2 separate regions of the Homo sapiens genome follow, and region 2 is linked to region 1. The links are contacts of gene promoters, found by promoter capture Hi-C in blood cells and fetal thymus (Javierre and others, 2016). All regions are on one chromosome and are shown on one strand. The core of a region is centred on a gene start or on the middle of the fragment in contact, and the rest is flanking DNA. Distances in the headings are between cores, read along the strand shown.

Region 1 (2,994 bases), core at 346-2,845:
TTTGCCATGTTGCCCAGGCTGGTCTCGAACTCCTGGGTTCAAGCAGTCCTCCAGCCTTGGCCTCCCAAAGTGCTGGGAATATAGGCATGAGCCATTATACAGGCCAAATTTTCTTCTTCTTCTTCTTCTTCTTTTTTTTTTTTTTTTTTTTTTTTGTCAGTCTCGCTCTACTGCCCAGGCTGGAGTGCAGTGGTCATTGCACTCCAGTGACACAGCTTGTGGTCAATGGACAGAGTGGTCAATGCACTCCAGTGACACTCCAGTGGCCATAGCTTACTGCAATCTTGACCTCTTGGGCTCAAATGATTCTCTGGCCTCAGCCTCTGGAGTAGGTAGGACTACAGGCATGTACCACCACGCCCAGCTAGTTTTTTTGTTTTTTTGTTTGTTTTTTAATTTAAAAAAGTCTCACCATCTTGCCCATGCTGGTCTTGAACTCCTGGGCTCAAAATGATCCTCCTCTCTAGGCCTCCCAAAGTGCTGGGATTACAGGTGTGAGCTACTGCACCCAGCCCTATCTCATTTTTGATAACCACATATATTTCCTGTGTGGCTTTCCCTTAAGGAATTGAGCCTAATAATGGATGTTTAGTATATCAAGAGGTGTTCAAAGAAAGACCAAGAACATTTTGACAGTGTCTACCAGCCCCATATGCAGACCCATAGATTTTACTACCATGCCTCGGCTAGGCAATTATCTGGTAGGTGCACTAGTGTACGTGCACAGTGATGTGTTAAGCAAGGAATGGCCCCTGCTCCATTATCCCTGCGAGCAAAAGGCTAGAAACAACCTATGTCCAATTACAGGGGACAGGATAAAGAACAATAACTAGCTGACCATATGCTGGAATTCTCAACAGTGGATACAAGAAATGATATAGATCTATAGATATTTACATGAAAAATGTGCCAGAATATATTGGAAAGTGAAAAAGACAAATTACAGAAATGTGTACAGTGGCTGGGCACGGTGGCTGACGCCTGTAATCCCAACACTTTGGGGGTCCGAGGCGGGCTGATCACCTGAGGTCAGGAGTTCGAGACCACCCTGGCCAACATGGTGAAACCCTGTCTCCACTAAAAATATAAAAATTAGCCAGGCATGGTTACTAGGGAGGCTGAGGCAGGAGAACCACTTGAACCTGGGAGGCGGAGGTTGCAGTGAGCCGAGATCACGCCACTGCACTCCAGCCTGGGCGACAGAGCAAGACTGTCTCAAAAAAAAAAAAAAAAAGTATACAGTATGATGTCATTTCTATTTAAGATGTACATGTAACTGTACATTGAGAAGAATCTGAAGGATACATACCAAGCTGTAGGTAGGATTTACCTAAAAGGATGTAGGGATATAGAAAGGAAGTGAGCTCCCCGTCCCATGAGGTATGCAAGCAGAGGCTAGCTGCCCCGTTTTCAGGGATGCTGCAGAAGACATTTCCACATCCCTCAGAGATGACCTCGGTTCCACTCTGAGCCCTGACAATCCCTGAGCGAGGGGAAGTCAGGGTTGACAGAAGAGTCCACCCCTAAGGGGAAAGAGTTAAGCAGGGCTGCGCTCCTGTGGGCGGGCTCGCGATCGGCAGCGCCGGGCTCTGTTAGCCGAGTCTGAGCATCTCGGAGGATGCGGCGCGGCGATCGGCTGCAGGGACGCGCGCAAGGTGAACACGGGGGCTGCGGCGCGCAGGTGAGGAGCTGGCCCAGGGAGGGGGCGATGGCGGGACCCCGACGGGGAGCGTGGCCTGCTGCCCCCGTCGCGGGCGCAGGCGACCAGGCCTGCACGGCGCCCACCCCCATCCAGGACACTGCGGGAAGGCGCGGAGCCAGGGAGAGAGGAGACGGAGGAGGAGGAGGAGGAGGAGGAGAGGTAACCCGAGATGGACCAGCTCCGAGGCTGCCCCGCAACGGCCTCGCCCTGCCCCCAGGCCGGCCTCTCCCCAGTCCCTGCGGCAGAGAGATCCGCCACCCCCCACAGCCTCTCCAGCAGAGTGGGAGCCCAGGGCTGGGCAAGCCCCCGCCTTGTCCGCAGGTGCCCACATCTCTTGGGTTGGCAGTGGTAGGCAGATGGCATGTTTATCTTTGGAGGCCCCATTCAGCCGTTTTCTCGGCAAAGCTTTTTGGACCTCCTGTGGAAGATGAGCCTCCGAGGGTTTCACAACCCCGATTGTGTCCACTCAGCTGTGTGACCTTGGGGGAGTTGCTCACCCTCTCTGAACCCCCGTTTCTTCCCCCTGTGAAATGGCTGTTCCCACACCTTGTATTGGGAGGGCGGAGTGACGTGTTGCTAAGCTCAGCGCAGGAGCCTCACTGGGAAAGAACTAAACACAGGAGCACTGTTTTTAGCCAGTACCTGTGTTAGGGGCGTCTCAGCGCACCCCTACTCCCAACCCTGGAGCAAAGCCCTGTCTCTGGGCCCCCAGCACCTAGCCTAGACCAGGAGCAGCCCATGGGGCTCCGTGAATGTTTGAGAAATGAACTAACAAGGCTTTAAGACAGAGTCTAAACTCGAGTTTGGAGGATGGGACTCAAAGGTCTTTGAACCCCTTGAAATTGTTCACAACTTTCGGTGAGCCTGGGTCTTTTCCCCGGGAGAGCACCAGGGGTTTTCAGTGGCTTCTTAAGGTGTCTGTGAGCCACCATGGGTTAACAGCCAGGAAGCTTTGGGGACAGCTGCTCCCCAGAGAGGAAAAGAGCAGGGCCTCTGCCGCCAAACACACCCAGGCTTCAGCTCTCGCACCCTCCATGAAACCTCTCCTGGTGGTGGGGCCCCTTCCTGCCTCCCTGGCCCACTGACAGGCTCTCGAGAACAGGAACTTTTAGGGGATATCCACGTGGGGCCAGGTATATACTGGAGGCTGCAGGTTTGAAATAAGAGGCAGGAGATTATTATAGAATCAGACCAGAGTGACAAGTGCCCAGGAAGATGAGGGAAGGAAGGCGGGAAGAGGAATGTGTAACGCTTGTCAAGCATCAGGTATGAACCTCGCCCATACCTGTTTG
Region 2 (3,137 bases), core at 318-2,817, 570 kb after region 1:
ACAAAGGTAAAAAATAGGTCAGGCTGGGCATGGTAGCTTGTGCCTATAATCAGCACTTTCAGGGGCTGAGGTGGGAGGATCACTGGACTCCAGGAATTTGAGACCAGCTGAGCAACACTGTGAGACCTTGTCTCTAAAATACTTTTTTAAGAAGTTAGCAGGGCATGATGGCACACACCTATAGTCCCAGCTACTCAGGAGGCTGAGGTGGGAGGATCACTTGAGTCCAGGAGTTGAAAGATGCAGTGAGCTAGGATTGTGCCGCTTTACTCCAGCCTGGGTGACAGAGCAAGACCCCCGTCTCAGAAAAAAGGGAAACAAACTGAAAACATGATTGTAATGCAGAGAACTGCAAAAGACAACTTTAAAAACAATGCTGAAGCAGTAAATTACATAACCGATGATACAAAAATTTAAGTTGCTGATAAAACATACACTGGAGAAAAACAATACTAAAGAATAGATAATGGGGTGATGTATCTGAAGAATAAAGTTTGTAAAACTAGTAATAACAGGAGGCCTAAAAGAAAAACAGATAGTAAAATTGGCAAATATATAGGTAATTGTTTCAAGATGAAAAACCAAAAGGAAAATATGTGCCATGCTATATAAAACAAGACTAAGAAAAAAGTTAAGATAAAAAATATAGATGACAGAAGACAGAATGAATAATAATAAATACAAAGGATTTAAATCCTCCTCATTAAGGCAAAGCAACTGGTTTAAGAAACAAAATAATGCACAGGCTAAGAACTGAAGATAAGTCAAAGGTTATCAGCAGAAATTAAGGATTTAATTGACATTTAATGAAGAATTTAAGAAAAAAATGCAATAAAAGCAATCATTACATAATTTTTAAAAGTACACATAAAATATGTATTATAACCGCATACCAATAACTGCACAAAACAAAAGGCAAAAAATATTAAAAACCAAAGTAAAATGGATAGAAATGTACAGGTTGAGGCCGGGCACAGTGGCTCATGCCTGTAATCCCAGCACTTTGGGAGGCCAAGGTGGGCAGATCATGAGGTCAGGAGATTGAGACCATCCTGGCTAACATGGTGAAAACCCGTCTCTACTAAAAATACAAAAAAAAAATAAGCCGGGCATGGTGGCGGGTGCCTGTAGTCCCAGCTACTTGGGAGGCTGAGGCAGGAGAATGGCGTGAACCCGGGAGGCGGAGCTTGCAGTGAGCCGAGATCAAGCCACTGCACTCCAGCCTGGGCGACAGAGTGAGACTCCGTCTCAAAAAAAAAAAAAAAAAAAAAAAAAAAAAAAAAAAAAAAAAGTACGGGTTGAACAGACAGTGTAGGTACAAACAAGATAAAATATTCAGAAGCTAGAAAGGTACGTTTGTTTAAATGTTTATCAGTTTTAATTAAAAAAAAAAAAGACTGGCCATATACTAGGCTCATTAAAAAAAACCCTCAATAAATATGAAACAACCATTCAAAATTAATTCATCACAATAAATCAGTATTTAAGAAAATTGAAGCCTTCCAACTACTTGTCTTAATACACGTAAAAGGATTTAATGTTGATACATAGACCAGCAGCATCAGCATTGTCCTGGAGTTTCCTGGAAAATGCAGACTCTTAGGTCCCATCCCAAACTACTAAATCAGATCTGTGTTAACAGTACTCCTAGGTGATTCACATGTACATTAATGTTTGAGAAGCACTGTCCTAAAAAATTAGATCAGAGAGACAATGAAATATATAACCAATGACTTAGTAATAAAATAGAGGCGAGGCTATATAAACTGCAGTATTTCTATACGATGGAATTTATGTAGTGACTTTAAAGACTATGGTCCAGGTGTGGTGACTCGTCTCTAATCCCAGCAATTTGGAAGGCTGAAGCGGCAGAATCTCTTGAGGCCAGGAGTTTGACACCAGCCTGGACAAAACAGCAAGACCCCCATCTCTACGAAGATTTTAAAAAATTAGCTGGGCATGGTGGCACATGCCTGTATTCCTAGCTACTAGGGAGGCCAAGGCAGGAGGATTGCTTGAGCTCAGTAGGTTGAGGCTACAGTGAGCCATGATCATGTCACTGCACTCCAGCCTGGGTGACAAAATGAGACCCTGTACCCAAAGCAAAAAAGAAGCCTATGTAAAAATATACTGTTTAAAATTTTGTGAAATTAAAATGAGTCTATAAAATATTCTTCCAATATGTAGGGGAAAAGACATATGAATAAGACAAATGAAAAATTGCATATGGTGGGGAAATTATCGCTAAAATAATATTTTAAAAATATAACTTATTTTCAATAAACTTTAAAAATGTAAATGGAGTCTCATAGTATATTCATTTTGGTTACAATGACGTCACAATGCACTGGGAGTTTTAATTCATAAAGTCAATATAAAAAGTGATTCTCTAACTCTAAAAGATGCTAAGAAATCTTTTAAATTTTTACCCTTCTTTAATTTGGCTCTTGGTCAATAAAGATGCAATGTTATTTGCTGCTCTATTCACAGCCAGTGGATTATTATCACCAGCAATATGGAAACAGTCAGACCATTCAGTGGCCCCCTAAAAGATAAGAGTGTATGTTAAAACAAAAGTAGCAAACTGTAAAATATGATTAAATTGTCAACAAACAAAGAAAATCCAGTGCTTTTCTAGAGTGGCAAAACATTGCATGTTGTCAACTGTGCTATTTCCCTGGCTGAAAATGCCCTCTTATTCTTTCTCTGCTTGCTGAACCTCTACCCATCTCTTAAGACCCAGCTCAAACCTCATGCCCTTTCAACATCAACCTTAACTCTCCAAGCAGTCTTATGTGCCCCTCCCAAAAACACTTTGTATGTACGTACCTCTGCCACTGCACTTGTCCCACGGTTAATTATTTCTTCCCCTTTATGCCTCTCAACTAACCTGGGAGCTCTCTGAGGTCAGGTCTAGTATTTTATTCAGTTCCTCATCCAGCAGTGTCTGGCACACTAAATTCTAAGTTAATGCGGTTTGAAAATATTTGAGATTTGTGGTTGTGGGAGTTTACATAATCTGATATATTTGAAAATTGCAAAATAAAATGCTATTTCCGGCCGGGCATGGTGGCTCACACCTGAAATCCCAGCACTTTGGGAAGCTGAGGCAGGAGGATTTCTTGAGCCCAGGAGTT

The links. Contacts are between HindIII fragments. The CHiCAGO score rates a contact against its expected background, and 5 or more counts as called.
Region 2: a fragment that was not itself captured here is called in contact with the fragment with the promoter of PRRT3 in region 1 in 1 of 17 cell types (activated CD4 T cells); the score reaches 5.8 in activated CD4 T cells.

The regions. Positions count from the first base shown.
Region 1 is chr3:9,951,009-9,954,002 of GRCh38, reverse strand. PRRT3 (proline rich transmembrane protein 3) reads left to right here and starts at 1,595. Exons shown (of 4, transcript NM_207351.5): 1 at 1,595-1,681. The region is part of intron 3 of PRRT3-AS1 (PRRT3 antisense RNA 1); the gene reads right to left. RefSeq lists a silencer at 1,557-2,096. The HindIII fragment of the contact is 9,295 bases long and covers 1-2,109 here.
Region 2 is chr3:9,379,911-9,383,047 of GRCh38, reverse strand. THUMPD3 (THUMP domain 3 tRNA guanosine methyltransferase) reads right to left here. Exons shown (of 10, transcript NM_001114092.2): 7 at 2,430-2,545. Among named protein-coding and RNA genes, the nearest start is that of THUMPD3-AS1, 15 kb to the left of the region's middle. The HindIII fragment of the contact is 6,287 bases long and covers 1-3,137 here.